Linked DNA regions of Homo sapiens: regions 1 and 3 are each linked to region 2. The links are contacts of gene promoters, found by promoter capture Hi-C in blood cells and fetal thymus (Javierre and others, 2016). All regions are on one chromosome and are shown on one strand. The core of a region is centred on a gene start or on the middle of the fragment in contact, and the rest is flanking DNA. Distances in the headings are between cores, read along the strand shown.

Region 1 (4,115 bases), core at 177-2,676, 200 kb before region 2:
ACGGGAGAGGTTACAGACCGAGGAAGAGCTAGGAGCGGGGCTAGAACCTCGAGGCGGAGCCAGAGGGCGGGGTTATAACCTCGAGGCGTAACCAGAGGGCGGAGTTATAACCTCGGGAGGAGCTAGAAGGTGGGACTAGACTCTTGAGGGGCAGGATTATAACCTCGGGGAGGAGCTAGAGGGCGGGGCTGGAACCTCAAGGAGGGGCTAGGGGCGGGGTTATAAGCTTGGGGAGGAGCTACGGGGCTGGGCTAGGACCTCAAGGGGCCAAGGGGCGGGGGTTACGACCTCGGGGAGGAGCTACAGGGTGGGGCTGAAACCTCAAGAAGGGACTGGGGCGGAGTTATGACCTCAGGGGAAAACTAGGGGCGGGGAGAGCTAAAGGGCGAAGTTAGAATCTCAAGGAGGAGCTAGAGGGAGGGACTAAAGCCTCGAGGAGGAGCTAGGGGCGGGGTTATGGCATCGGGGAGGAGCTAGGGGGCGGGAAGATAAGGTCAGGAAGAGCTAAAGGGCGGGGCTAGAACCTCGACGATGAGTCTGGAGCGGGGCCAAAACCTAGTTGGAGAGCTGGAGGGCGGAGACAGAACTTCGCGGGAAACTAGAGTATCTAACAATAGAAACTCCGGAGGGCTGATGGGGCCGGGCCTAGAATTTGGGAATAAATTAGTGGGCCGGGAGAGGCTCTGGAGCCGGGTAGAACCAGGGGGAGTGAGTGGAGGGATAGTTCCATTAGGGCACTGGGAGTGACGGTATAACATAAAGATCGACGCGGGTGGGGCAAGGCTAGAACGTCCCCAGCAGAACTGGAGAGGCGTAATCGACCGAGGGCCGGTGCGGTGAGAAAGACCTAATAGGAGCAGGAATAGAACGTACTGATAGAGAGGGCGGGGATACGACTGTCAGGATATACGCCTCACGAGGACAGAATGAAAGGAAAAACGGGCCAAGGCAGGACTTTGGGAAAGGACTTGTGGGCAGGGATAGAACGTTCAGTTAGTGGGGTGGAGGTAGAACGTGGACAACGGACAGACTGGAAGTACCGCCGGCCGGAACCCAGCAGAACATGGACACGAATCTGAATGGACGGGGCCTGGAGACTTGGTGTTGGTATTGGGACATGCAGGGGTGAGCGGGGGTCTTGGAGCTAAGCGTAGTTAACCTCTCCTCTCCTCTCCCTCCTTCCCCCAGCCTCTTGGGGCCTGCGGTGCATGCAGTGTAAGACCAACGGGGATTGCCGTGTGGAAGAGTGCGCCCTGGGACAGGACCTCTGCAGGACCACGATCGTGCGCTTGTGGGAAGGTGAGCTTCCCCCCAACCCACACACCCCTCCAGCGCAGCATGGAACGCGAGTGATTGAGAAACCTTCCTCACCAGTAACTGGGACATGCAAACTAAAAACAAACAAACAAGGAGAGCCCATTTCACACCCACCAGATTGGCAAGCATTTAAAAATCTGACAATACCCGGGTTAGTAAGGATGTGGAGTTGCAGACCGTGTCTGTGGTGGGGGAGTAAATTGGCACATCAACCACTTAGAGCGATTCGGCAATATCTAGTCCAGATGAAGATTAACATATGCTACAGCTCAACTCCTCGCCATGCAGAAATGCCAAAGAACCTTGGCCACATATACCCAGGGACACATGTATACGAATGTTCTTAGCAGCAATGTTTGTGACATGGAAAATTGGAAACAGGCTGGGCACTGGCTCACACCTGTATTTCCAGCACTTTGGGAGGCAGAGGCGGATGAATTGCTTGAGGTCAGGAGTTCAAGACCAGGCTGGCCAACATGGTGAAACACCCGTCTCCACACACACACAAAAAAGGAAAAATTAGCCGAGTGTGGTGGCACGCACCTGTAATCTCAGCTACTTGGGAGGCTGAGACAGGAGAATTGCTTGAACCTGGGAGGTGGAGGTTGCAGTGAGCTGAGATCATGCTACTGCACTCCAGCCTGGGCGACAGAGCGAGATCCTGTCAAAAAAATGAACGAAAGAGAGAAAGGTGGGCCGGGCATGGTGGCTCACACCTGTAATCCCAGCACTTTGGGAGGCTGAGGCAGGTGGATTACCTGAGGTCAGGAGTTCAGGACCAGCCTGGCCAACATGGTGAAACCCTGTCTCTACTAAAAAATACAAAAATTAGCCGGGCTTGGTGGCAGGCACCAGTTATCCCAGCTACTCGGGAGGCTGAGACAGGAGAATTGTTTGAACCCAGGAGGCGGAGGTTGCAGTGAGCTGAGATTGTGCCATTGCACTCCAGCCTGGGCGACAAGAGCAAAACTCCATCTCAAGAAAGAAAGAAAGAAAGGAAAGGAAGAGAGAGAGAGAGAAAGAGAGAGAGGAAGGGAGGGAGGGACGGAGAGAGGCAGGGAGGGAGGGAGGGAGGAGGGAGGAAGGAAGGGGAGAAAGAAAGAAAAGAAGAAAATGGAAACGACTTTATGTCAGTCAGCAAGTCAGCAGCAGAAGAGAAACACTGTGGTAATAATTACATAATGGAGCGCTCTACTGCAGCTTAAAGAAGGAAATAGAGCTGCAGATACCAATGTGGACACATCTCAGAAACCTAAGGTTGAGAGGGAAAAAAATGTTGCAGAATATGATACGTTTTTTATAAGCTTTAAGAACACATGAAACAACAGTATATGAAGCCAAGCACAGTAGCTCACATTTGTACCCCTAGCTACTCAGGAGGCTAAGGCAGAAGGATTCCTTGAGCCCAGAAGTTCGAGGTTGTGGTGAGCTATGATTGCCCCAGCTGGGACAACAGAGACCCTGTTTCTAATAAATAAATAAATAAAATAAAGTTACATTTGAGGCATCTCAGTACTGAGATCACTAAGCTGAGGGTGTGGGGGAGGGATAGATGGATCCAGAAAGTCCCAGTTGTAGTGCTGTCACTACAAGAGCAGGAGTGGGACACAGTGGCTCACACCTGTAATTCCAGCACTTTGGGAGGCCAAGGTGGGAGGATCACTTGAGGCCAGGAGTTTGAGATCAGCCTGGGCAACATAGTGAGATGCCATCTGTATAAAAAATTTAAAAATTAGCAGGGTGTGGTGATGTAAGCCTGTGGTTCCAGCTACTCGGGAGGCCGAAGCAGGACTGCTTGAGCCTGGGAGGTCAAGGCTCCAGTGAGCTATGATTGCACCACTCCAGCCTGGGTGACAGAGCAAGACCCTGTCTCCCGGAAAAAAAAATTAATTAATTAATTAATTGAAATAAAATAGAGCAGGCTCCTTGTTGGGGTGGGGGTGGAGGCAAGGTTAACTCTAGAAAAAGACAGAGTTCGACTCAAATAACAGAAGAGGCCTAGCAGAGATCAGCCCTGGGAGTGGATGACCTTGAGACCAGGAGTGTCAGAGGCTGGTTGAGCTGAGAGGAGCCTCTGGGGTAATGAAGATCCCCTCCTTGCAGAAGGAGAAGAGCTGGAGCTGGTGGAGAAAAGCTGTACCCACTCAGAGAAGACCAACAGGACCCTGAGCTATCGGACTGGCTTGAAGATCACCAGCCTTACCGAGGTTGTGTGTGGGTTAGACTTGTGCAACCAGGGCAACTCTGGTGAGTAGGGCAGCCCTTGCCATCCCCAACCCCAAGCCATCCCCAGCTCAACCTCATCATCATCCCAATCCTATTCTTAACTTTACATCAGCTGAACCCCAACTCCATGCCTTATCCAAGTCCCAACCCCAACCCAACCCATCTCTAGCTCAGCTCCATCCCCAACTCATTCTTGACCCCATATCCAACCCCAACTCAACTTCACCTCCAATCCTATGCCCAACTTCATGTTACCCTAACACTGTTCCCAACTCAAACCCAGCCCTGTTCCAAGCACAGTTCCAACCCCATCCCCAAATCAACCCCATCCTTATCTCAGACTACCCAAATCCCCACCCCAACGACACAATTACTTTCATCCTTAACCCAATCCCCATCCTGCATGTTTGTATGTATGGTTGTTATGTATAACTTGCAACTCTGCCCTTAACAAGCTCACACGCATGCATGAGACATAGATGAGATGTCTCAGTGATGTTTGTCCATCTGACTGGGCAGGAGATGGTCCTGCCCAATCCATTGGGACGGGAGATGGTCCAAGCAATAGATAC
Region 2 (3,670 bases), core at 1,081-3,580:
TCAGACATGGCTATGGATTGGTCTTGATTTTGTTTTTCTTTGTTTTTTGTTTTTTTGAGACAGGGTCTCACTCTGGTTGCCCAAGCTGGAGTGCAGTGTCGCAATCTCAGCTCACTGCAGCCTCAACCTCCCAGGCTCGGGTGATTCTCCCAGCTCAGCCTCTCAAGTAGCTGGGATTATAGGTGCACACCCCCACGCCCAGCTAATTTTTTGTATTTTCAGTAGAGACGAGGTTTCGCTGTGTTGCCCAGGCTATTGATTTGTTTCTTGATCCTTTACTGTCGCAGTGTGGCCTTGTCCAGGTTGGTGCTCTGTGAAATTATCTAGGCGCAGTTGAACTCCATGGCCTCACTATGTGTGTCAGGCCAACTCCCAGCTGTTAGGGGCTGTTTTTCTCTTTCTTCCATGGAAAACTACACGGCCCCCTGTTGGTTTCCTGGCCTTCTCTCTCACCCCTTCTAGAGTCATTTTCCTTTTTTACACAGAGTCCACAGTGACATTCTTTACCTTGTTTTTATTGAAGAATAACATACGTCCAGTGACAGGCCTGAGTCAGTGATTCTCAACGTATCTGTACACACATGCAGCTGTCACCTAGATGAAGATCGTGGGGGCTCCTCCCTGTTGCTCCTTCTGGGGCCATGCCCTCCCAAAGGTAACATGTGTTCTGATTTCTATCACCACTGGTTAGTTTTGTCTGTTCTGAAACTTCATATATATTCAGTTACACAGTATGTTTTGTTTGTTTGTTTAAGGCTTTCTAAACTCAACACCAAGTTTTTTCTTTTTTTAAAATAAAATGAGATGGGATCTCACTATGTTGCACAGCCTGGTCTCAAAACCCCTGGGTTCAAGTGATCCTCCCACCTTGGTGTCTCAAAGTGCTGGGATTACAGGTGTGAGCCACTGTGCCTGGCCCCAACACAAAGTTTTTGAGATATGTTGCTGCATATATCAGGTGTTGGATCTTTTCTATTGCTGTGTAGTATTCCATTGGCCGAACCAACCACTCTCTTTTGCCATTCACTTCTTTTTCTTTTTCCTTTTTTAAAATCATATATCCTACTCTCAGATCCATTTACTTTTTTTTAATTTTTAAATTTTTAAATTTTTTTTTTTGAGACAGGGTCTCACTCTGTTGCCCAGGCTGGAGTGCAGTGGCGTGATCTCAGCTCACTGCAACCTCCACCTCCTGGGCTCAAGTGATTCTCCTGCCCTACCCTTCCGAGTAGCTGGGACAGCAGGTGCACGCCACTGCACCTGGCTAATTTTTTTAAATTTATTATTTTTTTTTAATAGAGATGAGGTTTCGCCATGTTGCCCAGGCTGGTCTCAAACTCCTGATCTCAAGTGATCCACCCAGCTCGGCCTCCCAAATTGCTGGGATTACAGGCATGAGCCACCGCGCCCGGCCTCCATTTACTTCTTGATGGCTAGCTGCACTATTTCTCAGGTTGATCATATTAGGAAGCAAATCTATTATGTCCTCCAGCTCATTTAGACCCTCTTAAAGGTTCTCTACTATTCTCAAAATTAATCCAAATCTCTTGTCGGGGCCTCTGATGCCCTGAGTGTCTCGGCCTCTGCCTGACTCTTTCATCTCAGTTCCTGCCCTTCTCTCATGGACTTCTGAGCTCAGGAGCACTGCTCTCCTTTCCATGTTTGAATGGTCCATCCTACCTCCTACCTCCAGGTGCTCCCACGTGCTGTTCCCTCTGCTTGTAAAGGGCTGTGTCCCTCTCTTGACCTGCTCTAGCTGGCTACATCCTGCATGCCCTTGAGGTTGCATCTCAGATAACCTCAAGGAAGCCCTCACCGACCAGCCCCCACTTCTAGACTGCACATCTCCTTGTATCACTACACTTTTTCCTTCAGTGTCTTAGTCTCTTTGGTAAACACCAATTTGTACGATTATTTGATTAGCATCTGTCTCCCCCATCAGACTGTGAGCTCTGCCAGGACAGGCACTGGTTCTGTCTTCATCTCCAGCATTACCTAGACCAAAGCCGGGCACACTGTAGATGCTCATTTAACAGTTACCGAACACTGAATGTCGAGTAGCCCCAGCCTGTCTTTAAGCCCCACTACTCTCCCACTCCAAACACACACAGACTTTCTCCCGCGAGCTGTCAGGGAACCTCAGCTCCCACCCTTTCCCTCCTTGGCAACTTCACAGGGCAGGGACCGCTCTCCCTTGGATGACGCGCCTAGGGGCGGGGCCCCGCCCCACAGCCGACGCTGAGTTGGCCCGGTTGGGCAAGGCTGGGGTTGCCTGGGGCGAGGTTACTCATCCTGGGCTCAGGTAAGAGGGCCCGAGCTCGGAGGCGGCACATCCAGGGGGGACGCCAAGGGAGCAGGACGGAGCCATGGACCCCGCCAGGAAAGCAGGTGCCCAGGCCATGATCTGGACTGCAGGCTGGCTGCTGCTGCTGCTGCTTCGCGGAGGTGGGTCTGCTGCCCGGAGAGGTGGAGGGGGTAGAGTGGGGGCTCTTAGGGAGGAGGCTCCTCTGGCCCCGTACAGAGAAGGCTGTGGGAAGGATCCCCACATAAGCAGAGGGCACTGTGGGCAAAGTTCCCCCATCCTAAGCAAGGGAGGCAGAGGGAAGGGTCCTCCACCATGGGCCGTAGGAAGGGTTCCCCACCACGGACAAGGGGAGCTGTGGGCAAAATTTTCCTATCCTGAAGCTGCAGAAAGAAGTCCCCTGTTCCTAGGCCGGGCGCGGTGGTTCATGCCTGTAATCTCAGCACTTTGGGAGGCCGAGGCAGGCGGATCATGAGGTCAAACGATCGAGACCAGCCTGGCCAACATGGTGAAACCCTGTCTCTACTAAAAATACAAAAATTAGCTGGGCGCGGTAGCGCGAGCCTGTAGTCCCAGCTACTCGGGAGGCTGAGGCAGGAGAATCGTTTGAATCCAGGAGGGGAGGTTGCAGTGAGCCGAGATTGCGCCACTGCACTCCAGCCTGGCGACAGAGCGAGACTCCGTCTCAAAAAAAAAAAAAAGAAAAAAAGAAAAAAAGAAAAAAGTGTTCCCTGTCCTGGGCAGAGAAGCTGTGGGTAGTGTTCTCTCATTTGAGCAGAAGGGGGCTGTGGGAAGGGATCCCTCACTGAGCACAGTCTACTGTGGGAAAAGTTCTCCCACACACTGTGGGAAAAGTTCTCTCATTCTGAGCAGAAAACCGTGAGGAGGTATCCTTCCTACCCCGGGATGAGGGGCTTCATGGCGGGGATCGCCTACAGTGGGCATACAGGGCTGTCGGAAGGATGTGCCCACAGTTGGCATAGTGGGTGTGAAGGAAAAGGGTCCAGTGATTCCCGTGCTTCCAGATTTGTGGAAAGCTTTTCCCTACTCCTGCCCTGGAAAAGTGTGTGCAATAAGACTGTCTAATCCCGGGACAGAGGGCATGGGAAGGACTATTTCTCCTTGGGGGTGGACGCTTTAGCAAGGAGGGCTCAGGTCTATTCGGCTCCGCTCCCCCAGGAGCGCAGGCCCTGGAGTGCTACAGCTGCGTGCAGAAAGCAGATGACGGATGCTCCCCGAACAAGATGAAGACAGTGAAGTGCGCGCCGGGCGTGGACGTCTGCACCGAGGCCGTGGGGGCGGTGGAGACCAGTGAGTGGGGACCCCCGGGCCACGCACACCACTGCAGGCTCCTCCGGCCCAGCCCCG
Region 3 (4,203 bases), core at 1,079-3,578, 130 kb before region 2:
TAAATAAGATAGAAGTTTCTTTCTTAGATAGCAATATGGAAGTGGGCTGGTATGGTGGCTGTGCTCCTTGAAATTGACGAGAGACCCAGGCTCCTATCTTGTTGCTCTGTCTTCCCACGTGTTGCTCTTATCCTTATGGTCTGAGATGGCTGGATACCATTTCCGTATTACAGTTAGGAAGGTGGAAAAAAGGTATGTCCCTTTCTTTTCTTTTTTTTTAAACAGTCTCACTCTGTCACCCAGGCTGAAGTGCAATGGCACGATCTTGGCTCACTGCAACCTGTCTCCCAGGTTCAAGCAATTCTCCTGCCTCAGCCTCCCAAGTAGCTGGGATTACAGGCATATGCCACCACACCCGGCTAATTTTTGTATTTTTGGTAGAGACAGGGTTTCACCATGTTGGCCAGGCTGGTCTCAAACTCCTGACCTCAGGTGATCCACCGGCCTCAGCCTCACAAAGTGCTGGGATTACAGGCGTGAGCCACTGTGCCCAGCCGTCCCTTTCTTAAGCTTGACTGTTCTACCCAGGAATTTAGCCAGAAATCAGTCACAAGGCCACATCTAGCTGCAAAGGAATCTGGGAAATGCAGTCTTTTCAGCTACTGTGTGCCTAGCTAAAAACAGAGACAGTGATCAGTCTACCACATCCACCTCACCTGTGGGCTTTAAAAACATCCCTCAACATAAACAGAGTCTATAAGTATTATATGCAAGGCATCGACCATTGTCTGCAGGTGCAGGGCAGGTAACTAAGGGGGTAAAACTGGCCTGGTGGGACTCATCTCCAGTTGAGGGTGACACCCACTGCTCCCTCCAGCCTGTTGTAACTTCTGTCCTGCCCCTGCTGACAATGTCAGCCTAGGTTGGGCCTTTCAAGAGAGCTGAAAATAGGATCTTAATGGGAAATCTCCCAGTGTTGGCCAAATAAAACCCGAAACAGAAGGTATCTCTGTTTGATTCCAAACCAGTTTCCCCACAAAGCGAGGCCAACTCTGGCCTGAGTTCCCCCACCTGCCCACACCCTTATGTTCTCTGGAAATTCCCACTCAAAAGCCAGAGCTCCCTGTTTAGACATTTTAATATGGATGTTTTCTGTTTTTAGATACTATTCCTGTTAGCTTATTCATACCATTTCACCTACACATATGAAAAAAATATTTCAGGACTAGAATGATATACAAAATTATTTCAACGAGACATAAATTATCGGGGGACTAGTGCCATCTAGTGCCATGGCCCCTCTAAGTGAGGATGGCAGGGGGTGGAAAAGAGACACAAGGACTCCAATTGCTACCCCCACTCAATTGGGGTCCAGCTCCCAACTTTGCTGCCCCATCCCCAAAAGCCCAAGTTGCTCCACATCTGGAACTCACCTGGTGGCATTACAGGCCAGCAACACCTCACCTTTCCTGCCCCCATTCAGGCAAAGGTCCAGGGCAATTTGCTCCCATAGCCCATGGCATCCATCTGGGAAGAATGAAGGGTGATGGCACAATCTGCAGCTAGGTATTTAACTGGGAATAAGGGAGACACAAACCATTTCTCTCCCGCACTCCCTTCCCATTTTTTTTTTTTAACAAAAGATCTCATTATTATCTGATTTCACTGTCTCACGAAGGCCCTGTGTGCTCCAAAGACTGAAGCTCTAAATAAGAATCTTCTGGGTCCTCTTTATTAAGAGCCCTCTGCCTTCCCAGGGGAGGGAAGCAAATCCTTCAGGGCCCCCAGAGTTCCTGCACCCCATATCATGGGTGAGTCCTACCAGCCACAGAGCCACCCGTCACCGTGGAGAGGCTTAAGCTGCACTCAGAGCTCCCCCCGGGCATGCCGAATGTAGTGTTGATGCAGCCCTGCTTCCTGAGCAAAGTCCTGACCGCACTCTGTGCAGGCGAAGGTGCCAGGAGGGGCACGGACCTCATGCATCTGGCGGTGCCGCCTCAGAGAAACAGCCTGCCCAAAGGTCTTGCCACAGTCAGGACAAGGGAAGGTGGGCTGGGCAGTAGTGGTTGCAACCGGCAGGGTGGGCTTGGCGGCTGGACCGTGGCTGCGCTGGTGGGTGATTAGGGCTTTGGAGGAGGGGAAGGAGCGGGCGCAGGTGAAGCAGATGAAGAGGACCCCCTGCAGCTTCTGGGCCACGAAGTCCGCTGGGTGCTCCCGCTTCATGTGACGCTCCTGGAACTTGGAATCTGCGAAGGTGATGAGGCAGCGGGTGCACTTCGGGGCCCCCAGGTGGCCTGAGGAATGTGGGGGAGAGGTCAGGGGAGGCCAGCAGGAGTCTCCAAGACCTCTTCCTGAACCCCAGAATCACACCAACAATTAACATTGAATGTGTTATGTGCTAGGTTCTATGCTAATGCTGGACAACCAAACAGGAGAACTGTTCTTGCACCTATTTTATGGATGAGCAAACTGAGATTCAAAGAGGTTAGGCAAGTTGCCCATAGTCATGAGGCTAGGAAAGGAAATGGTGGAGCCAGGGTTGGAACCCAGAGAGTCAGCCTGCCCAACAGAGGGGTATGGTGATTACAGCACAGCCTTTGGAGCCAGACTGCTTGGGATTGAATCTCACCTCCACCACTTCCTAGGCAATTACACCAGTTTCCTTATCTGGAAAATGGGCTAATAACAGTATCTACTCCATAGGACCGTTGGAAGGAATAAATGAATTGCTGTACAGTCATTTGCAATTATGACTAATGATACAGAGAAATCCAGCCCGACATCCAGGATCTGGCCTGGTACTCACAGCTAGACCTTGGTGTTCTGTTGAACATAAATTTTCACAGAATATCAAGGACAGACAAGGCCACGCTGTGACTAAAATGAATCAAGACAAGACTACATCATCATAATGTCTGAGCACAGACAAAATATGAATACTGTCCAAGCAGAAAAATGACCAAACATCCTCCTATCCTGGCTAATGTGAATGTCTGCTGCTGCTTTATCAGTCAGAGCTTGAGCCTCGCCTCCTTCCTTCCTCCTTCTGGGTAAGATTTATTACGATAGCCAATCATAGAATTGCCCCTGCTTCCTGGTAGCATCCAATCCAGAGCAAAACAATTTTGCTTGAACCTTCCCCAAAATCACCACCCACAAGCCCAAATCCTGTGTCGTTTTTACCATTCTTAGTGAGACACCCCACAGTCCCCCCATGGTCTGTGTTCATTGCAGTGAGAAACCCAACGTGTTCAACTGCAGGTGTGTTCCTGGTAGTCTCTGGCTCAAGGGCATTGAGACTACAGCTCTTGTTACAAATACCTCTCTCTGCCTCAGTTCCCAGTTTAAAGGGCCTATTATTAGAAGGACTCAATGAGATAATGAATGTTAAAATGGTTCATAATATGAGAATAAATACACCTAGCTCATAATAAAACACTGAGCAGGAGGTGTTGCTATTACATGTCAAACTGGCTACCATCATTAACCCCTAGCTTTCCCCTTTGCTGCAGTTAATCCCATACCCACCCTGTGAGGTGGGAAGTACCACCCTCTTTTGACAGTCAAGGAAACCAAGGCCCAAGTTACACTGAAAGTCTAGGGCAGAGTTGGGACCAGAATCTTGGGGTTTCTCTCCCAATAGAACCATTCCCAGCCACATCTCCAACCCAAGCCTCTCCTGGAAGCCACCCTATCCCTCTGAATGCATAAGCATTGCAATCCTGCTTATGTGGCCAGAGGAGGGTGAGTACTCTGGCCACATAAGCTGGTGTGAGGAGATGCACTTCCTGCTAGAGCAGCTCAGGGACCATTACAGCCCCTTCTCAACAGGCAAAACTCTGTGGCGCCTTGGACACCGAAGTGCCACAGAGATCTTAGCATCAGCTCCTGCACCCCACCCTCCTCTAGCCCGCCAGCCATGTGTACTCACAGATGTTGCCTCCTGGGCTCTGGGGACTTCTCTCCTTGGGTGAATCCTGCTGCTTCATGTTCTCTTCAGGGTTCGGGTCCTCCATGGTGCTGGGACCCTTCTAGTCAGGAGAGGAGCGTGCATAAGTGAAGCTGTTCATCTGTTACCAGTCTTAGAGGGCACCCTAAGTCTATGACCTTTGACATCGCCAGAGGCTCTCCTTGCCTGCCTTTGACCCCTACGACATACTATCTCCTTGAACTCTAATTGATGGAGTTCTTGCTAAAAGAAGCTTCAAACCTCCCAAAGGACTGGATTTCCTGGGTTTGGGACTCCCCTAGAGTCTTCTCACT

The links. The method cuts DNA at HindIII sites, captures the fragments that hold promoters and counts their contacts. A CHiCAGO score of 5 or more calls a contact.
Region 1: a fragment that was not itself captured here is called in contact with the fragment with the promoter of LYPD3 in region 2 in 10 of 17 cell types (fetal thymus, non-activated CD4 T cells, total CD8 T cells and 7 more); the score reaches 14.2 in fetal thymus.
Region 3: a contact is called between a fragment that was not itself captured here and the fragment with the promoter of LYPD3 in region 2, in 9 of 17 cell types (naive CD4 T cells, naive CD8 T cells, total CD8 T cells and 6 more). The highest score is 13.0, in naive CD4 T cells.

Annotation. Positions count from the first base shown.
Region 1 is chr19:43,664,765-43,668,879 of GRCh38, reverse strand. PLAUR (plasminogen activator, urokinase receptor) reads left to right here. Exons shown (of 7, transcript NM_002659.4): 2 at 1,189-1,299; 3 at 3,421-3,564. It overlaps LOC124904724 (a long non-coding RNA gene), which reads right to left and starts at 116. Exons shown (of 3, transcript XR_007067264.1): 1 at 1-116. RefSeq lists a silencer at 1-212. The HindIII fragment of the contact is 2,395 bases long and covers 229-2,623 here.
Region 2 is chr19:43,464,268-43,467,937 of GRCh38, reverse strand. It overlaps LYPD3 (LY6/PLAUR domain containing 3), which reads left to right and starts at 2,330. Exons shown (of 5, transcript NM_014400.3): 1 at 2,330-2,445; 2 at 3,482-3,613. The coding sequence starts at 2,367. RefSeq lists an enhancer at 3,578-3,670. The HindIII fragment of the contact is 14,493 bases long and covers 1-3,341 here.
Region 3 is chr19:43,596,862-43,601,064 of GRCh38, reverse strand. It overlaps ZNF576 (zinc finger protein 576), which reads right to left. Exons shown (of 3, transcript NM_001145347.2): 2 at 3,872-3,971; 3 at 1-2,234. The coding sequence starts at 3,956. The coding sequence ends at 1,807. Among named protein-coding and RNA genes, the nearest start is that of ZNF576, 2.4 kb to the right of the region's middle. The HindIII fragment of the contact is 3,632 bases long and covers 513-4,144 here.